4 separate regions of the Homo sapiens genome follow, and regions 2, 3 and 4 are each linked to region 1. The links are contacts of gene promoters, found by promoter capture Hi-C in blood cells and fetal thymus (Javierre and others, 2016). All regions are on one chromosome and are shown on one strand. Each heading gives the region's core, a stretch centred on a gene start or on the middle of the fragment in contact. The rest is flanking DNA. Distances are from core to core; before and after follow the strand shown.

Region 1 (4,150 bases), core at 1,069-3,568:
TAGCAGGAAGACAGACCAAAAACAAGAAACAGCCTTCCTACTTGTAAGTTGAACAGCCTTTGCCCTGGACCGTCCTCCCTAGTGGCTCTGGAAAGAGGAAACAAGGCAGAGGAGGTGGGACAGCTCCACCAAATGGCTTCCTGGGTGTCCTTCACAAACTTTTTTATTTTTATTAAGGGGTTAGTAGAGCTGCCTCTAAACTAACAATGGAAGAAACCACCCTGGAAGGGAATTTTTGGAGGAAGAATTTCTGCTGAGTAGGTTCGTCTCAGCATAAATGTTCGCACGCAACAGAAGAGAAGTTAATGATCACTGACTTTCCTTGAACTTCAAAGCCCTATGTTATTTACTTTCATATTTATTATTTAATCATCACACAACTATATTTAAGTAGGTATCGTTGCAGGTGAGTTCCATTTGCCAAAGATTACAGATCTGGAACAGAGTCGTACTCAAAGCTACAACGTGCCTGACTCCTGGGTTTATGCTCTTCATCGCAACCTTCCCGTGAGAAAAGTTCCTCTATGTGTGAGGACAGAGACGGTGGAAAGGACAGAGATTTTGAAAGGACATCTGGAAAACTTGTATGACTCAGGGGATGGCCACATCTCTCTTAAGGTCCATCTGAAGGCACCCTCCTCTGGGACACGTTCATTTCTCAGAAGAAAGCGTATACTTCAAAAACTCTTACTGTTTGGAGTGCTCATTTGGTACTTCCTGATTACCGATTTGTATTGCTAGTGCTTCTTTCCCGCTTATTTGAAGTCCCCAATTAAATCTATAAACTAAGCCACACATGAGAATGAATTACTGGACAGGCAGCCAAAAAAAAACTGTGTTCTAGTCTTGTCTCTGGCACCTGTGTGAAACCTAAGTTTCTTTTCAACTTTAGTTCTACGGTACTCCCTGCCTGTGTCACAGTGGGTGCATAGTAAACACCTGATGTGATTAGTTGGGCTCAATATTTTGTCAGCAGAGGCTTGGGTGTTCCTAAGGGTAACCGCAACAAGGTTTTCCCTGGGTGCAGTTATGTTCTGGGCAGCCGTAAGTTTAGGGCCTTGCTGCCTCCTGTAGGGCAGATGTGCAAGTTGGGGCCTAATCGTCGCAACAGTGGAGAAAAGGGGAAGGGAAGATATCCCAGCCATTAAGGGACATCGTGACAGATGTTTCTTTTAGACTTCACAAAGACCCTTCGGGACATGGATTATTGATATCATTTTTACTGAAGACGGAACCAAAATTTAGGTTAAACACTTATACCTGGCATCCCCTACCCGGGCCCTAAGTGCTCTCCAAAGACCCCACCTCTGGGCTTATTTACATCGCGAACCCGCCCTCGTTCAGCAACACGAGGGCCCCGCCCGCTCATTTGCATAGGGCGCGCCCAGTCACGGGCCGGGTCCTCGGGCTTCTCCCGAACCCCTTTTCTCTCTCAGGCGCGTCCTCCGCGCTGCGCGGGGCCTCCCCGTGGGATGAGCACGTGTCCGCTGCCGGCCTCACGACGGACGGTGGACGAGGCGGCAGGCCCCTACAGGCCCCACCCACGACGCTGGCGAGGGATCGGGCGGTCACCGGGAATCGTCTTAATGCGCGGCAAGGCGCGGGCCTCTCCCTCTCCGCCCGTGAGCCCCGGTGGGAGCGCGCCGGCGCCCAACTCAAGCGAAACCGCGGGCGTCCCGCCCCGCCCGGCCGCGCCCCGCCTCGCCTCACGCTAGACTGGGGAGGCGGGACCAATCAGCGAGCGACGTCTCCCTTCCGATTCGAGGCCCCCGATGCGCGGCTCACACCCCGAGCTTCCCTCGTGCTGATTGGCTGCGGGCGCCGCCGGTCCGGCCGGGAGGCGGGGCGGGCCGTAGGCAAAGGGAGGTGGGGAGGCGGTGGCCGGCGACTCCCCGCGCCCCGCTCGCCCCCCGGCCCTTCCCGCGGTGCTCGGCCTCGTTCCTTTCCTCCTCCGCTCCCTCCGTCTTCCATACCCGCCCCGCGCGGCTTTCGGCCGGCGTGCCTCGCGCCCTAACGGGCGGCTGGAGGCGCCAATCAGCGGGCGGCAGGGTGCCAGCCCCGGGGCTGCGCCGGCGAATCGGCGGGGCCCGCGGCCCAGGGTGGCAGGCGGGTCTACCCGCGCGGCCGCGGCGGCGGAGAAGCAGCTCGCCAGCCAGCAGCCCGCCAGCCGCCGGGAGGTGGGTGCGTGGCGCCGCGGCGGCCGGCGGCCGAGGGCGGAGGGCGGAAGCGGAGGTGGGCTGGCGGGGGAGGGCGCGGCCGTGCGGGCGGCCGGTAGGGCTGCGGGCGCGCGCCTGAGGGGAGGAGGGGCAGCGCGGGCGCGCGCGTCCTCACCCCCTCCTTCCCCGCGGGCGGCGGCCAGGCTCCCTCCCCTCCCCTTCCCTCTCCTCCCCTCCCCTCCCCTCTCTTCCCCTACCCTCCCGCGCGCCCGGGCCGCCGGCCGGGCCCGGGCCTGGGGGCGGGGCGGGAAGACGGCGGCCGGGAGTGTTTTCAGTTCCGCCTCCAATCGCCCATTCCCCTCTTCCCCTCCCAGCCCCCTCCATCCCATCGGAAGAGGAAGGAACAAAAGGTCCCGGACCCCCCGGATCTGACGGGGCGGGACCTGGCGCCACCTTGCAGGTAAAGCCTGGGCGCCCGCGGGCCTCCAGCTAGGGAAGTGTTTGCGTGCGTCCGCGGCCGGGGCGATGGGCCGTGTCACATGGCCGCTGCGGGTGGGGGCTGGGGTGTGGTGAGTTCGGGGGCTGTGGGTGCGCCGGCCCGGGCGTGCGGGTTCGGGGCCGGAGAGCCGGGAAGGGACGGGGCTCGGTTGCACTGCGCTGCCGCCCAGGCTGACGGGGGCGGGGGCTGCCTGCGTCCCTTCCCCTCGCTGCTCTCACACTCCATAGTTTGTGGTTCTGATTTTTAAAGCCGAAGGGCCAGAGCTCTTGTTTCAGGAGTTGTGGGGAAGCCTTGTTAGGGACGCGTAATACTTTGCCTCCACTTTTTTTTTTTGGTCTCGTAACCTTTGTTAACAGTGGTAGTCTCGGGTTTTCCATGGCTTGTGTGTACTCACAAACACGCACACAGCTGATAACTCTGTGATCATCCTTCACTCACTTGTGAAAGTTGTTCTGCGGGTGGAGCCTATTAGTTTTTATCACACGCCTTTGGAAAGCCCTCGAAGTGATTTCTCGTATTTCAAACTTGGTTTTTAAAATTGCAACTTACTTTGTTCTCTTGGAGGGGGATATTGTCTTTGGGTCAGGTACTTTTGTCTTTTACTTATCCTTAAAATGTCCTTTTGATCCTAAACAGAAAAAGAATGCCTGGGTTGGTTTTGTTATTCCTTTCTCTTGACCCTTTAAAAGCAAAATACCACCAGTGTGTTGTCAACCATACCTTTAAAAAAGAAATTTCCAGGTAAAACGAATTTGCAAGCAGCATTTTCCATCAAAGTCATGTCTTGTTTGTTGCAATTTGGACTATCTTAAATTTGGGTTTGTGAAACTTTTAAAACGACATGTGTAAAATAATTGTTAATAAATAAATAACTTGGAATAATTACATCTTTTTAGAAATGGTCTTTGAAATGTGATTTAATTTCCAAAATTCTTTTTCTCTCTTCTGACTTCATATGAATTGAACCTGATAGTTTCGTATGAATGAATCGCTGATAGGATGTTTTCCTTGAGCCTAGTAATAAATTTGCTCTTATTATGCTGAAAATTTGCTATTCTACTTTAACACCCTTTAAAAAGTTTCCATCTTACAGAGAAGTTAGTCAAATAGTTAAATGGAGTTTCAACAGTTTTAATACATGAATTAGTGAAGCAGATGAAGCAGAGATGGGAGAAGTAATTTAAAATGGGCTTCATAAATGTACCATAGTTTGAGGGTATTTAAAAAATTTGCCTTCGGAAAACCCATACAAGATATTTAAAGAATTTCCTCTGCCAGAAGGTCATTTAGCAAACGTTTATATTAAATTCAAAAGTAATACTTTTATTTTTAAAGTTCCTTAGCCGTTGCCGTAAACTTAGCTGTCGTAGTAAATATAAATAGTTCACATCTTTCGGCATTTCTAAAGAGTGTGCCCACTTTTACTATAAATATTAAACTCTGCTGGATTTAATTGAGTTCAAGGCTGTTCACTGGCCAGGTTTAATTAATGTAA
Region 2 (4,150 bases), core at 734-3,233, 750 kb after region 1:
GAGGAAGCCAGTCTGAGTCCCAAAGCTGAAGAACTTGAAGTCCAACGTTCAAGGGTAGGAAGCATCCAGCATGGGAGAAAGATGTAGGCTGGGAGGCTAAGCCAGTCTACCCTTGTTGAGAGCAAGCCCCCAACAGTCTGGCCATAAACTAGCCCCAAAACTGGCCATAAATAAAATCTCTGCAGCACTATAACATGTCCATAATGGCCCTAACGCCCAAGCTGGAAGGTTGTGGGTTTACGGGAATGAGGGCAAGGAATACCTGGCCCACCCAGGTTGGAAAACTGCTTAAAGGCATTCTTAAGCCACAAACAAAAGCCTGAGAGATCTGTGTCTTAAGGATGTGTTCCTGCTGCAATTAATTCGGCCCATCCCTTCATTTCCCATAAGGGATACTTTTAGTTAATTTAACATCTATAGAAACAATGCTAATGACTGGTTTGCTGTTAATAAATACGTGGGTAAATCTTTGTTCGGGGATCTCAGCTCTGAAGGCTATAAGACCCCTGATTTCCCACTTCACACCTCTGTGTGTGTCTTTAATTCCTCTAGCACCGCTGGGTTAGGGTCTCCCCAACCGAGCTGGTCTTGGCATACCCTTTTCATTGGTTTTTTGCCTGCTTTATATCCTGGCCACTCCAGCAGCTGATTAGATGGTGCCCACTTGGATTAAGAGTGGACCTGTCTTTCCCAGCCCACTGACTCAAATGTTAATCTCCTTTGGCAACACCCTCACAGACACACCCAGGATCAATACTTTGCATCCTTCAATCCAATCAAGTTGACACTCAGTCTTAACCATCACATACAGCTAAGCAGGAGGCTAAGGCAGGAGGACTGCTCGAGCCAGGAGCTGAAGGCTGCATTGAGCTATGATGGTGCCACTGCACTCCAGCCTGGGCAACAGAGCAAGACCCTGTTCCTGGGGGGGGAAAAAAAAAAAGAAGAGGCTCAGAGGATCTTGGTTGGAGTTTGGTCAAGGAGGGGATGTTTCTCACTGAGTAATTTTAAAACAGTTATTTTGTTTTAGCATTCTGAAATCTGAAATGGGAATATTAGTATCTCCTGTATCTCCTGGGAGCATCAAGTGCAGTACTGAGCAATAGAAATATAATGCAAGCGTCACATGTCATTTACAGTATCTTCATAACCACATTAAATAAAATAATTAAAAATAAACAAGAAACCTTCCTCCCTTCCTTCCTTCTTTCCTCTTGCTCTGTCACCCAGGCTGGATCTCGGCTCACTGCAGTCTCTGCCTCCCGGGTTCAAGTGATTCTCTTCTCTCAGCCTCCTGAGTAGCTGGGATTACAGGAGCCCACCATCACACCCAGCTAATTTTTGTATTTTCAGTAGAGACAGGGTTTTGCCATGTTGGCCAGACTGGTCTCGAACTCTTGACCTTAGGTGATTTGCCCGCCTCGGTTTCCCAAAGTGCTAGAATTACAGGCGTGAGCCACTGCGCCCGGCCTCAAAATATTTTCATTTCAACATGTTATCAACATTTAAAAATTATTGGGAGGCCGAGGAGGGGGGAATCACGAGGTCAGGAGATTGAGACCATCCTGGCTAACACGGTGAAACCCCGTCTCTACTAAAAATACAAAAAATTAGCCGGGCGTGGTGGCGGGCACCTGTAGTCCCAGCTACTTGGGAGGCTGAGGCAGGAGAATGGCGTGAACCCGGGAGTCGGAGCTTGCAGTGAGCCGAGATCGTGCCACTGCACTCCAGTTTGGGCGACAGGGCCAGACTCCATCTCAAAAAAAAAAAAATTATTGGGATATTCTTCATCCTTGTTCCAGTTCCAAGTGTGTGAAATCCGGTGTGTATTTTGCACCTGCAGCACTGGCCACATCAGAGCATTGATTGCACATCACCGGTCTAGACAAGCGGCAGGACTTGCAGTCTTCAGCGAGGGGCGGTTCTTAGCCAGATGGAGGCGGGGCTTCCCGGAGAGTTCGTTTTGGGCCCCATCGGCTTCCGTAGGAAGGCGCCGGCCGTGGAGGCGCCACGTCCCTTGCGGCGGCGGGAGAGAAATCGCTTGGACTTCGGGGCGGCCTCGGACGGCCATGGCCTTTACCCTGTACTCACTGCTGCAGGCAGCCCTGCTCTGCGTCAACGCCATCGCAGTGCTGCACGAGGAGCGATTCCTCAAGAACAGTGAGTGGGACCGCGGGGCGCGGGCTGGGGCGGCGGCGGAGTCCCCGGGGGCGCGTAACCTAATGGGGCCGCGTGAGGGGACACCAAGGGCCGGGACAGAAGAACAGCGGAAGGCTCGGCTTGGAGTGGAAGCCGAGCCTTTCCTCTCATCAGGTTTGGGCTCAACAGCCGGGAGAATATTCAACAGACACCCGCTGTGCAGGGCCCAGGGGGTTGGGGTGGAGGGATATAGAAGTCAGTCAGGGACGCCTCTGCTTGCGATTACTTCAGGTCAGTAATTTAATTCAGTTTTCTGTGACTACTTTTTTTTTTGAGGGGGAGTCTCGCTCTTTTGCCCAGGCTGAAGTGCAGTGTCGCGGTCCTGTGACTACTTTTAATAGTCGAAAACCCGGGGTCTGAGTTTCGGGCTAAGAGTTGGGGGTGTGGGGCCGGGCGCGGTGGCTCCCGCCTGTAATCCCAGCACTTTGGCAGGCCGAGGCCGGCGGATCATGATGTCAGGAGTTTGGGACCAGCCTGGCCAACATGGTAAAACCCCGTCTCTACTAAAAATACAAAGATTAGCCGGACGTGGTGGTGGAAATACAAAAATTAGCCGGGCGGGAGGCTGAGGCAGGAGAATCACTTAAACCTGGGAGGCAGAGGTTGCAGTGAGCCGAGATTGCGCCATTGCACTCCAGCCTGGGCAATAGAGTGAGACTCCGTCTAACAAAACAAAACAAACAAAACAAAACGAGTTGGGTGTGGAGGGGAAGGAGGCGTGACCCATTTTGGAGCATCAGTAGTTCACTAACTGATGGAAGGCAATAAGTGTTCCTGGGCTTTAGGAATTACAGGAAGGGAACGTGTTGGAGTTATCAGGACATTCAGACACTCATGTTCCAAGAAAAGTTTATTCAGATAGCTTATTGGGTGCATAGAGTGTGCCAAAAACTCTGCTAGAATTTAGAAATTCAAAAATGAAAACACAAGTTATACCTTCCAGGACCTCACGTTGTGTACCAAGTATGCCCGTTTGAATCACTGAAACGTAAACCCAGGAGCAAGATTGATTCATTTCATTTACTTCAGAAGATATTTATTGAGTGCAAAGTATGTGCCAGGCCCATTTATAGTAACTGAAGTTACAGCAGCTACTCTGCCCTTCTGATGGAAGTTAATCTAAATAAAAACTAAACAAATGACAATAACAAGTATAGAGAGTATTATGTAAGAGAAGTACGGGCAGATACTAACTTGTGTATCTGCGAAAGCTTCTTGGAGGAAGCGTGTCTAACCTGAAATCTGATACATGAGTAAACATTAACTCGGTGAAGGTGAAGGGTTGGGAGGAGCTGGAAGGGTGAGGAGAGCTTTAAGCAGTGTAGACCTGGTGTGAAAACTGAGGCAGGTGAGAAGAGGGTCTTAAGACAGCGACATGACCAGATTTGTGTTATTTGCAAGATCCTTGAGGCTACAATACGGAGGAAAGATTGGAAGGGAAAGCAGTGGATGTGGGAAGACCCATTTTTTTTTTTTTTTGAGACGGAGTCTCACCCTGTCCCCCCGGCTGGAGTGCAGTGGCGCAATCTCGGTTCACTGCATCCTCCGCCTCCCAGGTTCAAGCGATTCTCCTGCCTCAGCTTCCCGAATGGCTGGGATTACAGGCACGCACCACCAAGCCTGGCTAATTTTTGTATTTGTAGTAGAAATGGGGTTTCACCATGTTGGTCAGGCTGGTCTCGAACTCCTGACCTCGTGATCTGCCCACCTCGGCCTCCCAAGGAAGAACAATTCTAAATAGGGCAAGTAGATACAAGTGGGTATGACAACAATAATAATAGCTAATACTTACGTAGCACTTACGTACAGGATCTGTATCAAGTGCCTTACATATATTAACTGGTGTAGCCTTCACAGCAACTCTATGAGAGAGTTTCTGTTTTCCAGTGGAAAACTAGAATCACAAAGAGAGTAGGTGGCTTTTGTAAGAACACACAGGTAGAAAGTAGAA
Region 3 (4,150 bases), core at 712-3,211, 530 kb before region 1:
TTAGAGACAGGGTCTCAGTCTCTCTCCCAGGCTGTAGTGCAGTGATGCCATCGTGGCTCACTGCAGCTTTGAACTCCTGGTCTCAAGCAATCCTCCCACCTCGGCCTCCTGAGTAGCTGGGATAGCTGAGACAGCTGAGACTTCAGATGCACACCACCATGCCTGGCTAATTTTCTTTATTTTTTGGAGAGGCAGGGTCTTGCTATGCTGCTTAGTCTGGTCTTGAACTCCTGGCCTCAAGTGATTATCCTGCTTTGGCCTCCCAAAATTTTGGGATTATAGGTATGAGCCACCATGCCCAGTTCAAATAATCTCTTTTATTCAAATGAACTATTTGGTAAATCCTCAATGTAAAACAGGTAAAAAGAAATGAATGGACTAGGAGTTCCCATTTTTGTAATTTGTGGATGTTGCATGACTGTTGTGGAACCAATGGAGTACTTCCATGGAGCCCCGAGTTTCTCTGTCTCAGAGAAAACTGCAGATCTCTCCAAACTCCTTGGTTTGCAGGAAAGGAAATGGAACCCAAAGAAATGAAAAGAACGAGCCAAAAGCACTCACAGAGTGGAAGATCCAATGGGGAACTCTGGTATCTTGAAACCTAGACTAGTACTATCACAAGGGCCTGCCTCTGGCAGTCAGGACCTTAAAAAGAATGAGTTTACCATTGTTTTAGAAAGTATTTCTCGGCCAGGCGCGGTGGCTCATGCCTGTAATCCCAGCACTTTGGGAGGCCAAGGAGGGCGGATCATGAGGTCAGGAGATCTAGACCATCCTGGCTAACATGGTGAAACCCCATCTCTACTAAAAATACAAAAAATTAGCCAGGTGCAGTGGCGGGCGCCTGTAGTCCCAGCTACTCGGGAGGCTGAGGCAGGAGAATGGCGTGAACCCGGGAGGCGGAGCTTGCAGTGAGCTGAGATGGCGCCACTGCACTCCAGCCTGGGCGACAGAGCGAGACTCCATCTCAAAAAAAAAAAAAAAGAAAGTATTTCTCAAGTGAGTTCTGGACAGCATCTTGTAAGTAAGTATGATTCCCAAATAAATTCTGGAAAAGCTGTTCTATAATTCTCCATAGCTAACTCTCATAGCATATTAGTTGTACTTAAGGCTCAAAGATGTCCTGCAGCACAGAAAGCCACTTATCTTTGCTTATTCCAGTTTTTCCAAAAGTCTTAAAAAACAAAAACAAAAAGGTGTTACATTTTCCTAGGACTGCTTGCACTCTGCTTTGGAGCCCAGAAGAGTCTTCTCTTAAGATGTGAATCTCTACAGGGAGCAACTCAGTCATGCTAACAGTGGCTGTGAGATTTCAGGTATCATGACCTGCACCATTTCCTTTGCCTGGGAATTGCTGGCCAGCATCTCTGGCAGGTGCAAGGATGGAGGCAGATGAGCGAGGAATTGCAGTGTGGTAGAAATGAATGGTGCTGTCTTTAAATTGCCCCTTGGAGTTTTGTACTTCTTGTACCTTTTGGGAGAAGAGTAGCCTTCAAGAGCCTGGATGTGGCCAGTGGTCTGGGAGAGATTTCCTAGCCTATTCTTTCATTGTTTTGCCTCCTTTCTCTAATGCATGCCTACTTCCAAATCCTCCCTTCAAATGCTTGCTCCTCTCCATTCCTGCCAACACCTTTCTGAGCCTCTCATCGTTCTCCAGTGACCTCCAGGCAGAGCACTCTAAGGTCCGTCACCCTTATCTTCCCTGGACAGTTGGTGTATGTAAATGTGATTACCAGAATCTTTTGCAAGGATGAAGTTCCAACGCTCCAGCATGAGAATTTCCAACACTCCTTTAGAGTCTAGGAATAAACAAACCCAATTAAATTCACAGCCACCACCAGAGGGCACAGTGAGACTCATGCAGGAGTAAAGGATGTTGAATAGAGACTGCAAAAACTTACTCTTGAAATGCATTTATTTATTTATTTATTTATTTATTTATTTATTTATTTATTTTTATGTTCATAGCTGGTTCACATAGTCTTAGAAACAGGCAAAGTTTGAATCTAAAAACTGCAGAGTGAAATACTGTAGCTTTGGTCATTATTCGTGACTTCTTCATTACCTTTATTCCAAATTCAGTAGAATTCTCTTATAATTAGACTCATGCCACACCACTGCAGTTGTGCCCTGGGGACCTAATCCCAGCCTTTCATAGATGTGCAGGCAGAGTGTTCACAAGAAGTTCCCAGCCTTGTTCTCACAAACATGAATGCTAAGGAGGACTCCTTTATAATTAAGTTTCAACTATAAAGCAGGGCTGGGGAAAAATACGGTGTACAGTAGAGGCTGTTCTGGGTTGGCCTTCAGAAAATGGGACTCTGACTCCAGCTCTGATATGATTAACCATGTGAATCTCTGATGTAACAACAGTGAGAGTGGATGTTCATTGAGAACCTACTGTATGCCACCTACTGTGTGCCACCCTGGCACCTTATAAATATTATCACCATTCTTATGATAAAACTGCGAGACAGATATTTTCCCCTTTATTTAACAAATACGAAAACTGATGCTCAGAAATATTAAATGATGTGCTTAAAGACACACAGCCAGCAAGTGATGGAACCATGAAACCATTTCTAGGTGTGTTTGGCCATAAACCAGGTGATTTTTCATTACTTACACTTTTTCCACTTTTTGATGTTTCAGTTTCTGTACATTCTTTGTAATAAAATTCACTCCTGTCTTTCTGCTTATTCAGGCTTGGCTAACTGTTGTCACAATCTCAAACTCTCAGAGGTTGAATAAGATAAAAACCTTTCTTGTTTATGCATAAGTCCAATGCAAGTCAGACAGGGGCCTTTGCTCCAGGCAGTCATTCAGGCACCCAGTTTCCTTCCATCTTTTGGAGCTGCCATCTTCAGAATGTGGCTTTCAGGGTCTCCATGGATCAGAAAGGAGAGTCATATGAGAGATTTGTATGTGCCAGGCCTGGAAGTGGCACACATCACTTTCCATTTGTCTGAACTAGGTAATCCAGTCCTAACCTAATGGCAAATAGATTGGGAAATAACGTTGAGCCCTGGGTCCGGGAAGAAGAAGAGAAAATGGATATTGATGAACCTATCCCTCTCCACATCCCTATCTCATGAGATTGTGGTAAAGATAAAATAAAATAGTATCTGTCAGAGTACTTTACCAACAAGAGAGATGTGATAGTTTAAGCCTGGAGGGAAGGAGCTGTCAGAGAGAGATTGCAGATGGGGATATACATGAACAGCGATTATCATGGCCCAGTAAAGAGCTTGATCTATGTCCTGGGTTGAGGAATAAGGAAAAAGAGACTAGAGAAGCGTCACTCATCTCCCCAAATTTATGTAAGCCTTTCACTCTTTGGCTCACACTCTTATTTCTAGTATTCATTCATTTATTCACTCATTTATTCTCCAAAAAATTGTTACAATATCCTGGGCATTATGCCATGTGCTGGTGTGTGTGTATGTGTGTATGTGTGTGGGTAATGCCTCACGCTAAAGAAAATCTCCCTCTGGAGCTGGTGTCAATTCTAGGAAAGATGCATTGCTGTCTGCTCTAACACAGAAGCATTCCAATGTCATTGACTTGTCACCAGTTTGCTAGCTGGTGTACATGATGAAGGATGCCATTTCAAGGACTCAGCAATGGTCTTTTTTGCTAGTAGGTTGGGTACTCAGCAATCACAGTAAATAAATCAGAATCCCTGTTTTAGGACTTTTGTGTAAACTGTGTCCTTGTTACCTTGACCACTCTCTTCAAAGACACATTGAACAAATACTGAGATATCTGAGGGGAGAGATTGGATGACAAACGCACAGGATGGGCCACCCTGTCTAGATGGTGACTGAGAACCTCAAATGTGTATATGGCCTTCAGTCATCATTAATGTGTGACCCAAAGATCTATCCATGCACTTGGTGCCCACTTCCATAGGTCTATCTGCATTCTGCTTTCCCAGATTTCCTCAACTCTCATCTTCCAGTCTGTTCCTTCCAGGCCATTAGCCAGCTGGCTGAGCCATCTAATCCTACCATGAAGGAGTACACATCTATGCCTCAGGCCACATCCTTCCTCCACGTACAGCATATGATCAAGTATACTGGTTCCAGCTTGTCCCATTGGAAGAACCACCTCTTACCATTATCCTTCAGGGTCACTTTTGTTTGGGGCA
Region 4 (4,150 bases), core at 711-3,210, 510 kb before region 1:
CTCCCCACAGCTGGATAGCGAGCCCTTCCCTGAAGGGGATCTAGAAGCTGTGTTTCCATGTGCACCTCACCCTTTTAAAGGATCCCATAACCCAGTGACCCTCCAGCACCCCACTGATAGGAGGACTCTCCCAGGACCAGGGCACCCTCTTTCTACAGAGGCAGCCCATCCCCATTTCACAAGGTGCTGGGCTTCCCTCTGCTGAGCTAAAATCTGCACTCCTAAAATGCAGGAGTGCTAGTCTAGGTTCTGCCCTTTGGAGCTACACAAATCAAAAACCCATTCCCATGATGACTATTGGGAGCATCTCCCAGCCCACTCCCATCCTGATCTCTCCATTCATTCCCCATGTGACATACGTCCGTGATCTCTGTCCAGATCATTGCTGTTTAGTCCAAATCCCTCTGACATATGGTTCCAGCTCTGAATGCAGTTCTCCAGGAGGCCTGCTTAGTGCTGAGACTAAGTCCTTCTTGCTCTGAAGGACACAGTCAAATCACAGTGTTGACTCAACTGAAGTTTACCAAAATCCTCAGCCACCAGCCACTGCTGATCCAAAGAGCCACGGACTGTCCTGCTGTAATTGACTCTCAGACACAAGTAAAGAATTTTGTATTTGTCTCAGTTTTTTTCTAACTTTTAGCCCCTTCCCAAGGGAATTTGCATTTTAACAGAAAAGGATGAATATCTGAGAAGGGATTCCTGGATGGATCAAAAGATGAATTTTCAGCCCTGGGTGTTCCTGCAAACACCCACAGATTAGTGCTTATTAGTGCTTCTTTTTTGTTTTTTTGTTTTTGTTTTTGTTTTTGTTTTTGTTTTGAGACGGAGTCTTGCTCTGTCACCCAGGCTGGAGTGCAGTGGCGTGACCTTGGCTCACTGCAACCTCCACCTCCTGGGTTCATGCCATTCTCCTGCCTCAGCATCCCAAGTAGCTGGGACTACAGGTGCCCACCACCACGCCTGGCTAATTTTTTTGTGTTTTTAGTAGAGATAGGGTTTCATCATGTTAGCCAGGATGGTCTCAATCTCCTGACTTCATGATCTGCCTGCCTCGGCCTCCCGAAGTGCTGGGATTACAGGCATGAGCCACCATGCCTGGCCAGATTAGTGCTTCTTAAACCCGTTTCAGGAGTATGTAGCAGTTCATTACAGGAAGCTCAAACAAGCTTCTTTTAGCAAGAAGCATCCTCCTGGAGGGTCACTTTATCCTAAGATTTGGGGACAAAAATTCCTATATTAAGCAACTCAGTAATAATATAGAAAAGAATGCAAAATATACATGAATTTCTAAGGGAAATTATTGACTTCAAAGACATTTCACACATCTTTTGGGATGCCTTAGGCCCACCCCTGGCCTCCCTGGAGGGGAGCAACATAGTCACTCTCTAGTTACAGAGTACTTGGTGTAGATAATGATGCTCTCCACCCTGGGCCAAAGTGGCCATGCATGGGCCAAGACATACACAAGATAACCAACCAAATAAGAACCAAACCCACACACTCCCTGCCAGTCTAGACAATGCAGTTTTGGAGGTAGAGGGTCCCTCACAGATCAGCTAGTCTGATTTTTTTGTTTTACAAAGATACTAACACCAAGAGCCAGAGAATGGAAATCATTTGCTCAAGATGGGGCAGATTTGTGGTCCCCTGAGTCTGAGTCTCCTTCATGGCATTTACTATGGGTAGTGCCAGGGAGGTGAAATTGGCTGGCTGTGAGGCTGAAACATGGTAGGTAGGCCCCTCGGGTTGCTGTTCCAGGAGATCATGGGGCCATGGGCATAATAGGCACAGGTAGAAGTTTCTGGCAGGAGTAGCTGCTGGAGAATCCACATACTTGATGTGCTGGGCAGCTCCCTGTGGGTTGAGTCAGCCTCAGCCAGCTACTAGGGATTCACCCTGGATCCATTCTCTTACGTGTGAGGCTGACATCAGAACCACTTTCTATGACTCCAAGAGAAAGCCACACTTCTTTCTCAACAGTTATTTCAGACATTGATTTTTTTCTCCCCCTGGTTGTTTCTCATGGAAAACAAGACTGCTTTCCCCCAAGTCCCAAGTGACTGCCTTCTTTGATCCTGCCCCTGGGGCTGTGTGTGTGACACCATCATTTGGCAAACAGTGAGAAAACAAAGAGAAAACCCAGAAGGGTTGGGGTTTCTAAAATCTAGGGCACAGTCCATCCCTTGAGAAGCAGCAAGTAATCTAGCTGAGTGAGAGAAGACCAACATGAATTTGAAAACAGTAAAAAACCATAAAGAAGGAAGGGTGGTTCAGGCTGTGATTGAGAGAATAGCTTAGAGGGGAGGGCTGGATGGGGACAGGAGTGATCAGGGAAACCTCGCTGGAGCTGCCATCTCCTGTCCTAGGTTTTGGGGCACCAGCACAAGAGTACCAGACTTGGAGGTGGGGGTGCACGTTTAAATTTGAGTTCACCCAAACGAATTTTGTAAGGGGGCCCATCTCCAGTTCTTCCTAAGTCCCCTCCCATGTTGTCCTCTATGCCCAGTGATTGTGTAAATCCCTCAGGAAAAGACTATCTCATCAGCATGCATTTTCTCAGATTGGCCCTGCTCTGCTGGCTTTTTCCCTACAGTTGTCTCTGTAGCTTCCCTTAGTCTCAGTTTCCCCATATGCGAACGAAAGAGATTTGTTCCCCTGCTCCTCTCTAAGAAGGTTGTGAAGATAAATGGCATCACAGGCTAGATCAATTCAACTCAAGCCCAGGGAAATATTGCACTGGGAAGCTTCATTCAAACTATTCTCCTCCAGTCTGTCAAGCATCGCTATCGAGACAGCTGGAGGAAGAATTTCAGATGGGGGGCTGGGCAAAGGGGTGGCACCCTTTGTATTCATTCATTCCACAAAAGAAAATATACTTGGATTCCAAGAAATGGAGGGAGCATAGCTCCAGGCAAGTGTGCAAGGGGGCCGCCTTGTCACCTTTCCTGAGTGTCCTGGGCCAGAGCAGCCGGTGGAGGACGTGGCACTTGGAACCAGCTCAGCTGCAAAGGCAGACCACAACCAAACCAGTAACTGCTTTTCCAGACACTGCACACAGCTTCGCCGGGCTGGAGAGTGTGAGGCAGCTGACAGACTGAGAAGGGCTTGCAGTTTCCAGCGCTCCGACCGGTGTCAGAAATCCTCAGAAGATTGATGGGCCTTTTCCAAAGAGGAGGCCAGAGCACTTTCAGGATGAGAGCCCGGGAGGAGCCGGGCTTTGGAGAACTTGGCACAGAGCTGCCTTTTGCCCCCAGGGACCTGGATCTGAGCGTGGTCCCAGAGTCTTGGCAGGAGGTCGTGTTTCAGTTGGCATCCTCTGCCGCGGTGGAGGAAGCCGACCACGGCCGGACATCCTGTGCCAGTTTGGGAGGGTTGGGAGCGCCTTTCAGAGAAGTCCCAAAACCCTGAGCACACGCAGTCACACTGCATTCATTCAGCACACAAGTGCTGTTTCTAAGGTCAGCACCAGATGTGACTTTAAAAGTGTACAAAAGGAACACAGATTTCAACAAGCGGAATCCTGCCTGGCCTTCAGCTTTAATGGAACAGCCCTCACAGGCCAACCTGGGTGGGTTTAAATTCATTTAAGCCACTTTCCTGACAGAGGGGTCTGACTACGGAGAACTCAGCCGAGGACTTGGAGCATTTCCTCCTGTAGTTAGATTCGGTGGAGGACTGGTGGGGCTGAGTCCTCAGCCCGATTAAGCAATGAATTGGGATTTGTTTCCCTGAGCCCAGGGGTGGCGGGGATGGGGTAAGGTTGTGGCAAGGTCCCTGGACTGGAGTCAGGCATTCTGTAATTGAGTCCTTCCTAGGATACTAACTAGCACATGACTGCAGGCCGTCAACCTCCTCGCTGTCCTATTCTGAGATTCCTCCAGCTTGAAAATTCGAAATGGGGGTGTTCCAACTATAAGCGAAGATTATATTTTTAATATGAGTGGAGGATTCCTGATGATCTCCAGTTAAAGGAAAGAGTTTTCTAAATCCATAGACTTTTGATTTCCCTTAAATTATTATGTAAATAGCAGATGTAAAGACAGTTCTAGTTGGAGTCAGGTAGGTAGGAAGAACTGAAATTCATTCAAATGAGCTTAAGAAAAAGGGAGTTTATTGGATCCTATGAAACCTAAGATGAGGCTGGGTC

What was found. Contacts are between HindIII fragments. The CHiCAGO score rates a contact against its expected background, and 5 or more counts as called.
Region 2: the fragment with the promoter of IER3IP1 here is called in contact with the fragment with the promoter of SMAD2 in region 1 in 13 of 17 cell types (activated CD4 T cells, naive CD8 T cells, naive B cells and 10 more); the score reaches 16.6 in activated CD4 T cells.
Region 3: a fragment that was not itself captured here is called in contact with the fragment with the promoter of SMAD2 in region 1 in 3 of 17 cell types (M2 macrophages, M0 macrophages and M1 macrophages); the score reaches 6.2 in M2 macrophages.
Region 4: a contact is called between a fragment that was not itself captured here and the fragment with the promoter of SMAD2 in region 1, in 4 of 17 cell types (M1 macrophages, M2 macrophages, M0 macrophages and 1 more). The highest score is 9.1, in M1 macrophages.

What each region holds. Positions count from the first base shown.
Region 1 is chr18:47,928,827-47,932,976 of GRCh38, reverse strand. SMAD2 (SMAD family member 2) reads left to right here and starts at 2,318. Exons shown (of 11, transcript NM_005901.6): 1 at 2,318-2,616. LOC124904297 (a long non-coding RNA gene) reads left to right here. Exons shown (of 2, transcript XR_007066360.1): 2 at 1-789. RefSeq lists silencers at 1,400-2,329, 2,360-2,889. The HindIII fragment of the contact is 8,478 bases long and covers 1-4,150 here.
Region 2 is chr18:47,174,197-47,178,346 of GRCh38, reverse strand. It overlaps IER3IP1 (immediate early response 3 interacting protein 1), which reads left to right and starts at 1,983. Exons shown (of 3, transcript NM_016097.5): 1 at 1,983-2,160. The coding sequence starts at 2,070. RefSeq lists enhancers at 1,815-1,944, 1,955-2,074. The HindIII fragment of the contact is 4,620 bases long and covers 1-3,412 here.
Region 3 is chr18:48,463,096-48,467,245 of GRCh38, reverse strand. No RefSeq gene overlaps it. Among named protein-coding and RNA genes, the nearest start is that of ZBTB7C, 56 kb to the right of the region's middle. The HindIII fragment of the contact is 6,511 bases long and covers 1-4,150 here.
Region 4 is chr18:48,440,725-48,444,874 of GRCh38, reverse strand. No RefSeq gene overlaps it. Among named protein-coding and RNA genes, the nearest start is that of ZBTB7C, 33 kb to the right of the region's middle. The HindIII fragment of the contact is 1,578 bases long and covers 1,172-2,749 here.